2 separate regions of the Homo sapiens genome follow, and region 1 is linked to region 2. The links are contacts of gene promoters, found by promoter capture Hi-C in human tissues and cell types (Jung and others, 2019). All regions are on one chromosome and are shown on one strand. Each heading gives the region's core, a stretch centred on a gene start or on the middle of the fragment in contact. The rest is flanking DNA. Distances are from core to core; before and after follow the strand shown. Region 1 overlaps KRT75 (keratin 75). Region 2 holds the start of KRT73 (keratin 73).

Region 1 (3,111 bases), core at 269-2,768, 190 kb before region 2:
CCAGCACTGAGCTCTGCGAATGACCACTTCTTCTCTCACCAGCACAGGGCCATGCCAGCTTGTTAATACCTCTCCTGTTTTAGAGCTACTGTAGCCAACTGCCATATTTTATGCTGCCCTTACTGCCTTGAAAACCCTTGGCATCCTTCTGCAGTTATACTCGGCAGAGTTGAGCCAAGCAGTGGAGCTTCTTCTCAAACTGTTTAGGAGAGAAGCTGCCTAGTTGGCAATGCTCTTGTCCACAGCATGAAGGCTCCCTTCAAAGGTCCAAGCCAGACCAGGAATTTTCATAAATCCCGTCTACATCAAGTGCTCACCTCTGTGCTAGGCTTGCAGCCCCAACAAAAAGGCAGGGAATTCTGGGAGGTAGGAGATGTGGCCAGGATCTTTTAAACCCACTCAGAACAATGACATCAAACCTCTCATCACCCCTTCTGTGACACCCTCACTCTCAAAGAGGAAAGAACTGTGACATTAAAGACTCCTAATATGGCTTGCTTTTTAAGGGACCCAAAACCTCAAACCTTCTCCAAATGAACGCTGTCTGTGAGATCCCGTCTAACCCGTCATATCTTCACCCTCTGGCAAGCCCACCACATCCCCATCCCCTCTACCACACACACTCCAAATGGCCCAAGAAGTATGTCATACTCACAAATGTTAACTGGAGAAACTCCCTCTCCACTCAACCTGATTGGGAAGAGCAGGGAGAAGGAAGGTTACCAATGTGGCCAGCAGCTTAAGGGCCTTTGCAATGACACTTTTGTAATTGTTGACAAAGCATTTAAACATACTTTATTATTTTTATTGCAGAAGTAATGCAGGTTGAAATTATTTGAGAACTAGTAGTATTAAAGATAATATTAATAATCTAATGAATAAAATAAGGTGGAGTTTGAGGTTCACAGGAGCAAAATCTATAATCTCAGAAATACAATTTTTGGTTTAAACTAGTTAGATGCCTTAAGGAAATTAAAAGTAATCATATACTGGCATCAACTGGAAAGAAGGGCCTGTCCTATAATAAGATTTGTCTCTCAACAAGGGACCATTGTCATGCACTGAGCCAGGGCTGAGCTTATTGTATATAGGTGTGGAGAGGCGTCTGAGTCATAAAAATAACAATAGTAATATCAGTTTATTATTATCTTAGCAACCAAGTAACTTTGCTTTAGCATCTTCAGGACAGAACTGGCATTCATTCATAAACACATACTGAGAAACTTAACAAGAGGTAACAGCTGTTGATTACCTGTTACTTATATCACACCACTTAGTTCTCTCAACAACCCCATGAGGTAGGTATTATTTGCTCACTTTTATAGAGGGAGAAATGGAAGCTCAGACAAGTTAACTAACTTGCCCATAGTCGCAAAGCTGGACTTGAAGACAGATTCATCTGACACCAAAGCCTATGTCTTTGGCCATGAAACTGAATGATAGCTAACATTTATCGAACACGCTGTGTACCATGCATTGTTCTAAGAGCTTTGTGTGTATTCCCTTATTTTAACCCTTTTAATAATGTGAGAGTTTAGAACTATTGTTATTCACATTTTATTGGATGAGAACACTGAGAGGTGGAGAGGTTAAGTATCTGCTCTTGGCTACACAGCTCCTAACTGGCAGAGCACAAAGCTCCCATGAAGCTTTGCGGATCATGTAATCTGACCTTTTCATTTTATCATTGAAGAAATTGAGGGCCAGAGAAGGGAGACTGACTTTCCCAAGGTTATGTAGCTACTTAGTGTTAGATCTGTAAGCCCAAATCCTAGGACTGTTTGTTCTCAGCCCATGGCCTTTTAGACCACATTTCGAGAGCTGCCATGTAACCAAATGTCTCCTTTGGTAGAATTCAGTTACTTAGACCTGATCAGGTTTTAGGTTTCTATGGGGATGCTAACTGTAGTTGCACCTCAAATGATTTACTAGCCTGGAAGGAAATTAAAATTATTTTTTTGCCATAGCCCAATTCTGAACTGCATTTTCTTCCAGGAGAAGAAGGGGCTGCAACAGCCCGAGCCCCTAGGAATGCCCAGGAAGCTGAGGTGAGCTCAACTTGCTTTGAGGATGAAGTTGGTGCATCTGCCTCACCTGCACTCCTCGCCTTCCAGCAGCTTGCGGTAGGTGGCGATCTCCACGTCCAGGGCCAGCTTGATGTTCATCAGCTCCTGGTACTCACGCAGGAGCCGAGCCATGTCCTGCTTGGCCTTCTGCAGGGCCTCCTCAAGGTCCACCAGCTTGGCCCGTGCATCCTTGAGAGCCAGTTCTCCCCGCTGCTCTGCATCAGCAATGGCCGTTTGCAAGCTGGAACACTGTAAGGACAGGAGGAAGCCATGAGTCCTGCTGACAGCCCATGGAGGTGTGGTGCTTCTTGGGGAGGAGTTCTTAAAGATGGCAGAAAGGCCCAGAAGAAATGAGCATTTGAGGAGCTCTTGGCCCTGCCAAATCTTTACCTGCTTCTTGACGCTGTCAATCTCAGCTCTCAGCCTCTGGATCATGCGGTTCATTTCAGAGATCTCTTGTTTGGTGTTTCGAAGGTCATCCCCATGTCTGCCTGCGGTGACCTGCAGCTCCTCGTACTGAGAGAACCAGAGCAAACCCAGTCACTGAGTCAAATGCCTGGCCCAGGCACTCGCTGTGCACACAGACCCACCCTGGGTGCCACAAGCAGGCTCATTCATTCCTGGTCATTCACTCATTCCCCCTGAAGCTTACAGTTTATTGGGGGACATAGACATTAACTGAATTAGCATATTATCAAATGTATAGTTCCACACTAAGATAAGTGCCCTTAGGAAATGAACAGGGTCCTGGGAGAGTGTAATGAAGGAATCTGACCTAGATTTGGAAGTGGGAAGTGGTGGTCAGAGAAGTCTCTCCAGAGATGGAGATGCTTGAACTGTGGTCTGAAGGATGAGAAGGAGGGACCTAAGTGACCAGTTGTGGGGGAGAACATTCCAGACAAAGGAAACAGCCTGCATGAAGACTCTGGGTCAGGGAAGGAACATGGTGAGTTCTAGGAGTGAGACGGTGATTTGATCAAGGTCCCTGGGTAGTTCCTGGTCACAGAGCGTGCATCCAGACCAACTGTGCCCATGAATTTTGGTA
Region 2 (2,905 bases), core at 325-2,824:
TTAAAACCCTCAGGTGGTTCCACATCACCCTCAGGGTCAAGTCCATATTCCTTATCACACTCTTCATAATGTGCCCAGCCCTCCTGGCTTCCTTCTTTACTCATACAGTGATGTCGTAAACCGAAGGTCTCCCATTCCCCAGACAAGTTCTACCATGCTGCACGTGCTGTCTCCCTAGATTGCCTTTTCCCCACCTCCATCTGAAAACTCCTACTCATGCCTCACCACCCTACCTCACTGTCGCTCCGGGTGAGCTTCCCCTGCTCCTCTAAGCTTAGGAAGTCTCTGCTTCCCAATACCTTCCTACCACTTTGTTCCTCAGTGATTCTCAAACCTGAGTGTACATCAGCATCACCTGGAGAGCTTGTTAAAATGCAGGGTGCTGGGCCCTGCTGCAGAGTCTCTGATTCAGTTGCTCTGGGGTGGAGCCTGAGAGTGTGCATTCTAACAAGCGTCCAGGTGACGTTGCTGCTGCTGGTTCCAGGGCCACCTTTGAGAACCACTGCTCTAGGGCACCGTGACCTCCAGCTGCCTTGCCTCATAGGCTGTGTGTGTTACGGACTGAGTCTGAGCTTTCAGGGGACACAGGAGGAACAGCTGGGTCGCATGGCAGTCTAGATGCCCCAGGCTGTCAAGGGCATCTCCTTCGCCTAGCTTCTAAGTCTCACAGGCTGTCACTCTGCTACTTCTCAACTCAGAGACCGCTCTCATTGCTTCCTGGACACCTTCCTGGGCTAGGCTGCTGGCTCCTCTCACCCCTCCAACCCTGGTCCCTTGCCTCTGATGTCCAGGCTTTGTCCAGTTCCTCCCTGGGCTATGTCTGCATCCTGGGGAGGTGTCCTGCCTTCGTCTGCTTCAGACAGGGAGCACCCCAAGGACAATGAAGGCGGGGGAAGGAAGGGGCTCTACGGCATGAGCAAGCCTTATGGGCCCAGCACCTGGGGAGCTTTCAAGTTGTTTACCTGGTGTCTGATTTTGCTGGGAGAAAATGATTTCTTGCTCTCAGGCAAATTGAACCACAAATTAGGGCAGTGGCTCCCTCCTGAGTCCTTAAAAGGGGAGCCCAAGATCAGCTTTCTCCAGAAAGACCCACCTTGTCAATGAAGGAGGCGAACTTGTTGTTCAGCACCTTGATCTGCTCCCGCTCCTGGGCACGCACTTTCTGGATTTCAGGGTCCAGCTCCACGTTCAGGGGTGCCAGGAGGCTCTTGTTGATGGTGACCTGATGGATACCCCCGGGCGGGCACAACGACGGACACACGGACCCCAAGGCCACACTGCCAAACATGCTGCCAGCAAAGCCACTGGCCCGGCCCCGGCCAAATCCATAGCCTCCTGCCCACCCACTGCCACTGGCCACATTGAAAGAGATGCTCCGGGCACCCCCCAGGCTGTAAAGGCTCCGACTGCTGAAGCCTCCACTGAGCCCTTTGCCCCCTGCTCGGTAGGAGGATGAGCTGCCCCCTGAGAGCACAGCGGAGCAGCCGCTGAAGCCCCCCTTGGCAGCAGCTCCCGACTTGTAGGTGAATTGGCGGCTCATGGTGGGGAGGCCAGAAAGTGGGGATAAGATGCTGACCCTTAGCTGAGATGCAGTTCACCAGCCTGTGATCCTGGGCTCCCACTTTATAGGACTCAAGAGGGAGCCATGGGCCTAATTTGTGGGTTCAGTTTGCCTGGAAGCAAGAAATCATTTTCTCCCAGCAAAATCAGACACCAGGTAAATGACTTGAAAACTCCCAAAGTGCTAGTCTTGCAAGTCTTGCTCATGTAATTTGAGTTTTATCTAATGAACATGTGTAATTAGCATGGGCACATTATCCATAGAAAGATCTTAGGTGGGAGGTTTGTCGCAGTCTCAATTGCTGTTCCCCAGGGAGTGGTGGGGCCTGGGATTGTAGGGGTACAGAGGGGAGACCTTTAATTGACAGTGTCATCTGTTAGAAATCTCACAACCATGCCAGCATCAGATGGGCTGCTTCAGGGACCCTGGCTGAGCTGCTTTTATGTGGTTAAGAAGAGGCTGCTGCTGCCTGGCTTCCCAGAGTTCCTGGAGACAGGTTTGATGGCTGGCCAGGGCCATAGGAGAGGAGCACACTGGGAATCCAGGACCAGCCTCTGGCTGCCAGCCCCCTGCTGTGCCCTCCCAGGCAGCTCTCCTGCTCCTCTGTGCCAGCCGGGCTGCCCTGCTCACCTTCCTTTGCACACACTGACTTCTTTTTCCCTTTACCATCCCACTACCCTGACTCTTGACCTTGAAATTATGGTCATTGCACCATTCACGATGGCTGACACTGGTGCAGCACTTTACAGTGTAACAGAGCTCCTCACACAAGAAGCTCATTTAATCCACTTAGTCTGCATGGAGGGGAATGGTGATGATCCACATTACACAAATGGGGAAACCAAGGTTCAGATAATTGAGGATGTCATTCCTTTAGCAAACATTTAGTGAGTCCTTTCTTTGTGTGAATCCCAGAGAATGAAAATGCCCCCAAAAAGCACAGGCCCCAGCCTTGAGGACTCCCTTGGCTGGTCTTCTGACTCCACATTCAGAGCTATGCCCGCCTTATTCATTCGTCCATCTATCCGTCCAACCAGCCAGCCAGCCATCTACTTGTTCATTCATTTATCCATTCGTTTAACAGACTTCTCTTGAGGGCTGACTCTCTCCCAGGTACTGTGCTAGGCTCTTGGGTCCCGAATTATGAAGACCAAACCTAGCTCACAATTTTGGAGATGGGGAGGTAGGGGAAGACATTTGAATTTCATGGATCCTTGACATTGCCAAAGTATGTGACCCAAGAGTTTCCCAAATCCCAAATCCCAAATATATCCATAGTATAGAATTTCCTCCATAAAAACACAAGTATTTCACTAGCTGGAGTACTTGAATGAACAGTTGGCC

What was found. The method cuts DNA at HindIII sites, captures the fragments that hold promoters and counts their contacts. A contact is called where the count stands out against the background at its distance.
Region 1: a fragment that was not itself captured here is called in contact with the fragment with the promoter of KRT73 in region 2 in 2 of the 25 tissues and cell types used here (H1 embryonic stem cells and dorsolateral prefrontal cortex).

What each region holds. Positions count from the first base shown.
Region 1 is chr12:52,426,162-52,429,272 of GRCh38, forward strand. KRT75 (keratin 75) reads right to left here. Exons shown (of 9, transcript NM_004693.3): 6 at 2,457-2,582; 7 at 2,095-2,315; 8 at 656-690. Among named protein-coding and RNA genes, the nearest start is that of KRT75, 6.7 kb to the right of the region's middle. The HindIII fragment of the contact is 7,225 bases long and covers 1-3,111 here.
Region 2 is chr12:52,616,985-52,619,889 of GRCh38, forward strand. It overlaps KRT73 (keratin 73), which reads right to left and starts at 1,575. Exons shown (of 9, transcript NM_175068.3): 1 at 1,094-1,575. The coding sequence starts at 1,540. The HindIII fragment of the contact is 11,365 bases long and covers 1-2,905 here.